2 separate regions of the Homo sapiens genome follow, and region 2 is linked to region 1. The links are contacts of gene promoters, found by promoter capture Hi-C in blood cells and fetal thymus (Javierre and others, 2016). All regions are on one chromosome and are shown on one strand. Each heading gives the region's core, a stretch centred on a gene start or on the middle of the fragment in contact. The rest is flanking DNA. Distances are from core to core; before and after follow the strand shown. Region 1 holds the start of AIDA (axin interactor, dorsalization associated). Region 2 holds the start of ABCB10 (ATP binding cassette subfamily B member 10).

Evidence for each region. Contacts are between HindIII fragments. The CHiCAGO score rates a contact against its expected background, and 5 or more counts as called.
Region 2: a contact is called between the fragment with the promoter of ABCB10 here and the fragment with the promoter of AIDA in region 1, in 1 of 17 cell types (neutrophils). The highest score is 10.6, in neutrophils.

The regions. Positions count from the first base shown.
Region 1 is chr1:222,710,671-222,713,969 of GRCh38, reverse strand. It overlaps AIDA (axin interactor, dorsalization associated), which reads left to right and starts at 1,479. Exons shown (of 10, transcript NM_022831.4): 1 at 1,479-1,762. The coding sequence starts at 1,653. It overlaps BROX (BRO1 domain and CAAX motif containing), which reads right to left and starts at 1,406. Exons shown (of 13, transcript NM_144695.4): 1 at 1,028-1,406. RefSeq lists enhancers at 209-428, 797-1,711 and a silencer at 1,379-1,598. The HindIII fragment of the contact is 15,501 bases long and covers 1-3,299 here.
Region 2 is chr1:229,557,126-229,560,424 of GRCh38, reverse strand. It overlaps ABCB10 (ATP binding cassette subfamily B member 10), which reads left to right and starts at 1,718. Exons shown (of 13, transcript NM_012089.3): 1 at 1,718-2,289. The coding sequence starts at 1,773. RefSeq lists an enhancer at 939-1,128 and silencers at 1,299-1,998, 2,059-2,508. The HindIII fragment of the contact is 4,467 bases long and covers 1-3,299 here.

The sequences.
Region 1 (3,299 bases), core at 230-2,729:
TTTATTCATGACAAAGCTGGTTTTGAGGAGCACCACATACTTAATGAATAGAGAATACAGTGTGTACCCAACGAAAAACTGAGCAGGTTTATTTAGGACTCAAAACATTTAACGAGTTATTTCAGAAAATATCATCTTCTACACATCTTCCATATAAATTCCGATAGCCTAATACAGCATCTATGTGCCTACAAATAATATCACACTCAGCACTTGAGGCTGCGAAATCTTCCACAAATACTTCTTTTAATGCGGCCTCCTACTTCCTGGATGAAAATGTCTGAAGTTTTGCGAATCTTTACTTCAGGAAAGAAGAGGGTTTCTGCCCCTGCCCCATCTTCTCCCCTTCTGCGACCCGGCGGTCTTCAGTTTTCGGGAGTTCCTAGGGTGGGATAGAAGAACGACACACCCACCCGCAGGGACAAGGGTGCCTTTAGAGCCACCAATACAACATTCGGATCGAAGCTGTAAGCTAACACACTTCCACAAGAGGACTCCCGCTCCTAACAAGGGACCCCCACCCCGGAAGCCCCGAGTCCCCAGAGGAACCTACCTGAGCGCCGCCCCCGAGCTCTGAGCGCCCACTTCCTGTTTACCACCCAGCCTCTTCCTCCCGTGCCCAGTCCCGTTCGAGGCAGCGGGCGGCGACCGTGCGCACGCGCCAACACTTGAGTTCCCCTCTTTCCAAACAGGCATTTTTGTGGAAAGCCGATACTGTCAACCCGGGAGAGGTGGCCAGACAACGGCCGAACGAACCCCAGTTTAGCTTGTATTATAAGCTCTCCAATGACCAATGGAGATGCGGGGCAAGGGGATTCAGCGGATCTAGCTGTTAATGCCACTGATTTGTGGTGACCAATATGGATTTTCTTTCTGTCGTTTGTTTCAAGGCACTAGAAGGAGACTTTTGGTCCACTGTCCAGGGGTCTATGGAGACTAATGTAAAAGGGGGTGATCCTATTGCTTGAGACTCCGGGGAAGTAGCGGGGGATATTACTGAGAAACACCCATCCTCTGACATACTTACCAAATTTCTCAGAGTCGGTTCAGCAGTTCTTCTAAGGGAAGAAGGGCAATATATCGGAGTCCACAAGCGAGAAAAAGAGGGAGTCGGAGAACCGAGACTACAGAACCAGGGTGACGGAAAACCAGGACGGCGCCAAGCCGGAGTCACGTGACCCGGCGGCCATGATAGCTACCGAGGCGGTAGTGCGCGCAGCTCAGGGGCGGGTATTGCCGCGGCGTTGCAGTCCCCTCAAAACGCTTCGTTCATCATCCCTTTCTAACTTCTCCCTCGGCCTTCCTTTTGAGCTATGGTCTTTTTCCCAGACAGGAAGAGAAGAGTTGCCCCTACCTCCGGAGCCGAGGGAGAATGCCGCAATAGCGATGGCGGCCCTCGGCGCAGTGGGGCGGCCTCAACCTAACCCGGGGCGGGGCCTCGGGGGCGGGGTCTCGGCGGGGCGGTCGCTTTGGAGCCGCAAAGTTTGGCTGTGGCGGCAAATGGGCTTGGGCGGCTCCTCGGCGGGTGGCGGTGGTGGCCGTAGCGGTTCCTCCTGGCCCTGTTAATGTCGGGGCCAGGCCGGGGGAGGATGGCGCCCTAGAACCCGGCCTTGCTGGGGTAGGGGCGGGAGGGGACGGGGTGGGGACCGGCCATGTCGGAGGTGACCCGGAGTCTGCTGCAGCGCTGGGGCGCCAGTTTTAGGAGAGGCGCCGACTTCGACTCTTGGGGCCAGCTGGTGGAGGCGATAGACGAGTATCAGATGTGAGTGACTAACCGCGGGAGCAGGCCAGACCGGCTCCAGTCGTGCGCCTCTCCCTTGTTTCTGTCGGTGTCTCTCATCACCGTATCTGCAGCCAAGGCTTCTCAGGGTGGGGCTCCGCAGGCACTGGGGCTGAGATCCCTCGCCACCAGCCCCAGCGAGGCTGCTCTAGGGACAACGGCTCCGCTCTCTGGGGTGACTCGCCTTCTTCCCTCTCCGCCTCCGCAGGGACAGTTCCATTCAACAGGTAGCCCTTCTTTCCTGGGGCGCAGGCCCCAGCAGGCTATCTGCTTAGTTCCTTTCCACCGTCTCGCGGGTCCCCCACTTGGCAGTCAGTTTCCTTTCCTCCTCCTCTCCCAGGTTGCTTTTCCTCGATTTCCTTTTGAAATTCTCTGAGGAATACTTGTGTGTTCTCCGCCCACGTTCCAAGGATGAGTGGCCTTGCTCTGTGTGTGTCTTCCTTCTTCCATGCGTAGGAAAGGAGGGAACTGTTTGCGATTGAGGGGATGGGGGGGAGCCCAGGAAGCAACGAGGGCCAGGGATACCTCTTCTGCCAAAAGAAGGGTCTCCTCTCGCGCTCCTTCTCCACCCCTCTTTCTGGTGAGCCGTGTTTTCAGAATTCCACCTCGATTTCGTTTCGGTTTCTGGGACTGTTATTTGGTAGGCTGTGAGTCCCACCCACCCCCTCGCTCGGTTGCCTTGGGTGGAGTCCGCGCAGGATGTGAACCGAAGAGAGCAAAATGTGAATTAATGGACCACGCACAGGAGCTCCACGCCCTCCTTGGATCCCTCCTCCTTTTCCTGTATATAATGTATAGCCGCAGGGTACAAGTGAGTACCAGTTTCCTTGAGCAACCTAAGACCAATTTCTTGCCCTTTCTGGTTTCCACAGAAAACTTCAGGGTTGTCTTAAAAAATAAAAGACAAGATTTATATACACATAAAACCTTGCTTAGGTTTTTGCACATTTTACTGAACTTAAGAACTGTCTGCCAAAATGCTATTGTTTGCAAACTCGCCATTAATTATTCTCTGTTTAAAGCAAGTTATTGTTTGAGATTTCACTGAGTATGAAACCACGTATGAGTAGAATACCCCCGGCCTCCCCCACCCCCCATCCGCCCCCGACACACAACGATTTCTGGCAAGAATATACGCTTGGTACTTGGAAGATCTAAACTCTTATCGTCTCCCCGCAATAGTTATTTGTTTTTATCTATTAAGATAATTTAAATGTGTAGGTACTGACTTTGAATCGCCTGTAGCTTCAAAAAGCTCTGACAAAAACCCGTGCTCTGAGCCATTTTGCGATGTGTAACAACTACTAGCATTTGTTTTGCACTTTCACATGATTTCATTTGCTCTTGCAATAACCCAGTGAGAATATAATTATTCTCATTTTACGAAATGAGGAAAACTGAAGCTCAGGTTAAACAGATTACTCAGGTCACAAGCTGATACCACTGAAATCTGGGATTTAAAAAAGAAAATCCAAATCCTGTCTCTACTACAGAGTGCTTAAGATGTACTGAGAGAGTA
Region 2 (3,299 bases), core at 469-2,968, 6.8 Mb before region 1:
CCTGGCTAATTTTTGTATTTTTAGTAGGGACGGGGTTTCACCACGTCGGTCAGGCTGGTCTCGAACTCCTGACCTCGTGATTCGCCCGCCTCAGCCTCCCAAAATGTTGGGATTACAGGTGTGAGCCACCGCGCCCGGCCGCTACCTCCTTTTTGAGCCCAACTAAAGAAACATCAAGGATTGATACCCTCCCAGTTGAAGAGAAAGTGACAACTTTAACCCAAATCTCACCTTCCTCTTACTTTCTCTTTCCCATTTTCCAGCTGCCAAACTAAGGGCAGCTGCTGTCAGTTTTTGTAAATAAAGTTTCCAGGGCTGGGATTAGAGCGAGAGAAGAGAGGCAGGATTGTGAAAGGTCAGGAGTGGATACTCAATCAAAATTTTTTATATTTTGTTCATTACGGATTTTTTAAATTAATTTTGATTTTTAAAAATATTGCACTAAAATGTTTATGTTGATTATTGAGGTTTTTTTATTTTGTGAACCCATAAAATTTGCAACTGACAGTACCCTGTCCAGGTCCAGTAAAAATACCTAGGAGTCTACAAAAATCTACCCACGACTCACTGGACCTCAGGTACATATCCCCCCCCGCCCCCATGAAGTCTCCATAAAGTGTCCCAGTGAGTTTTAATGTTCTCTCCTGTCTTTCCATGCACGTGTATTAAGATGCATTGCCTTCTGATTAGTGTTTTCCACTTCGAACAGCGGGAATGCCTCGACCACGCCTGTCTTCAAATTTCTGCTCTAGTTAAGAAACGATCTCAGGCCGGGCACGGTGGCTCACGCCTGCAATCCCAGCACTTTGGGAGGCTGACGCGGGCGGATCACCTGAGGTCAGGAGTTCGAAAAGAGCCTGACCAACATGGTAAAACCCCGTCTCTACTAAAAATACAAAATCAGCCGGGTGTGGTGGCGTATGCCTGTAATCCCAGCTACTTGGGAGGCTGAGAAGGGAGAATCACTTGAACCTGGGAGGCAGAGGTTGCAGTGAGCCGAGATCGTCTCAAGAAAAAAAAAAAAAAGAAAAAAAAGAAACGATCTCTTCCCTTCTCAAAGTTATATACATTTCACTATTCGCCAACCACCTCCTCCACGCCGTCCAGAGCTGAGCTGACACGCAGCGAAGTCCTCTCAGTGGTCCCTCCGCACCTCAGCCCTGTGCTTGGCAGCGAGACGAGTGACAGGGCCGCCCCAGCATGGGTCTCCCGGGCCGCGGACCCGCCCCACGCCGTATCCAGCACGCTGTCCTCCCGCCCCATCTTTGTGCCGGCCATCGTGTGGTCGCGTCTGCGCGCTCCGCCCGGTCTGCCGGCGTGAGAAAGAGCTCGTGTCGTTCCCAAGTTCAGACCAGAGGGGACGGCGAAGCGCGAAAAAGTTCCCTGCGCCCAGTACGCAGGCGCAGCCGTGCTCCTGGGCTTCCCGGGCCTCGTCCCAGCTGGCGCGCCCGGCGCTCCTCCGCCAGCGGGCAGTTGGGGGCGCTGCAGGGAGGGCACCCGAGCGGGTTGGGGGCGCTCGGAAGGGTGGCTTGCAAGGTCCGGGTAGCTGCAGTCCCCGGAGTGGGGCGGAGAGGCGCGGCACCGCGCGGACGAGGATGGGGCGGGGGCGGGCGCAGCCCGAGGGTGCAGGCACGATAAGGCGGGTGACAGCCAGCGGGGAGGGGCGGGCGCCACCGCGTCCACGCCCTTTGCTCGGGGCCGGGCCGGGAGGGTCCTCGGGCTTTGCGCGCGCCTGGCCGGCGGGCTGAGGCGTACGGGTCGCACGCAGCGCCATGCGAGGCCCCCCTGCCTGGCCGCTGCGGCTGCTCGAGCCACCGAGCCCTGCCGAGCCAGGTCGGCTCCTGCCGGTAGCCTGCGTGTGGGCCGCGGCCAGCCGCGTTCCCGGGTCCCTATCGCCGTTCACTGGCCTGAGGCCGGCGCGGCTATGGGGCGCGGGGCCCGCGCTGCTCTGGGGCGTTGGAGCCGCGCGCCGCTGGAGGAGCGGCTGCCGGGGCGGGGGTCCGGGCGCCTCGCGGGGCGTCCTGGGCCTCGCGCGGCTCCTGGGGCTGTGGGCTCGCGGCCCCGGCAGCTGCAGGTGCGGGGCTTTTGCCGGGCCAGGCGCTCCTCGGCTCCCGCGCGCCCGGTTCCCGGGCGGTCCCGCAGCCGCTGCCTGGGCAGGGGACGAGGCCTGGCGGCGCGGGCCGGCGGCGCCTCCCGGGGACAAGGGGCGGCTGCGCCCCGCAGCGGCCGGACTCCCGGAGGCCCGGAAGCTCCTGGGGCTGGCGTACCCTGAGCGCCGGAGGCTGGCAGGTAGGGTCCTCCCCGGCCACTTCCCTCCGCCGGGCCTCTCCTTCTCCACACGCGGGGTCCCGGGGCGCCGAGAGGGACACGGCCGGGCCGCAGAGCGCGTGTCACCGCCGCCTCTCCTGGGCCACTCCTAACCCCGGAGGAGGGAGGGGATCGCTCACCTCAGAGTAGCGTTGTCAAGATTTCGCCTTAGCTGGGGACTCGTTTGCAGATTTTACACTTGTTTTCTTGTTGACACACGTTATATATGTCATTATTGGAATCTTTGGGTCTGTTCCACCACCAACTTAGTGGGAGCATCTGTTTTGGCTTAGGCAGCAAAATGAGCTGGAGGTTTTTCCTTGGAAAAAAAAATTCTAGCCAAAAATATGCCTATTTTGTTATTAGGCGTTTATACTTTTTTTTTTTAACCAAAAACACATTATTTGCTTCAAGCGAGTCTGTCAAGCAGTCACCAATGCTTTCACAGCGGAAAGCAAAACTTTCAGACTTGTCTCTTGTGCAGGAAGTTACAGCACTGTGTTCAACAGGCCACACCAGTGATCTGTTCAGTAATTGAGTAACTTTTTTAAAAGAAGCCAAAATGAATGTTTTTAGAAACAAAATTTAAATAGGACAGTTTTCTATAGCTCCTCATTTTTTAGCCATAATTGGAGGAGTGTTTAGATGCAAGGGCCTTGTAAGATCTAAAATTTTTTCGATTTCTCTAAATCTTCACTCCTTCTATAAACATCTGTTGAGCCCTCATTCTGGACTGGGCCCTGGGTTTACAGTGGCATGCACAAGGAAACATGGTCCTCACTTCTGCTGGGGCTTCTAGGTTAGTGGGGAGAAGCATCTATGAAATATTCGTATGTATAGAGGTAAACCTGCACCTGTGGGCTGTGGAAGGGGGCCTGTGGGGCCTGTGAGGTTGTCAGGTGCAACACCAGAAAAGCATTCTTTGCTGCAAATCCATTGCTTTAGAAAGGACCCTCCTGGGTAGTGATTTGGGATTTAGAGTAGGTTTGCAC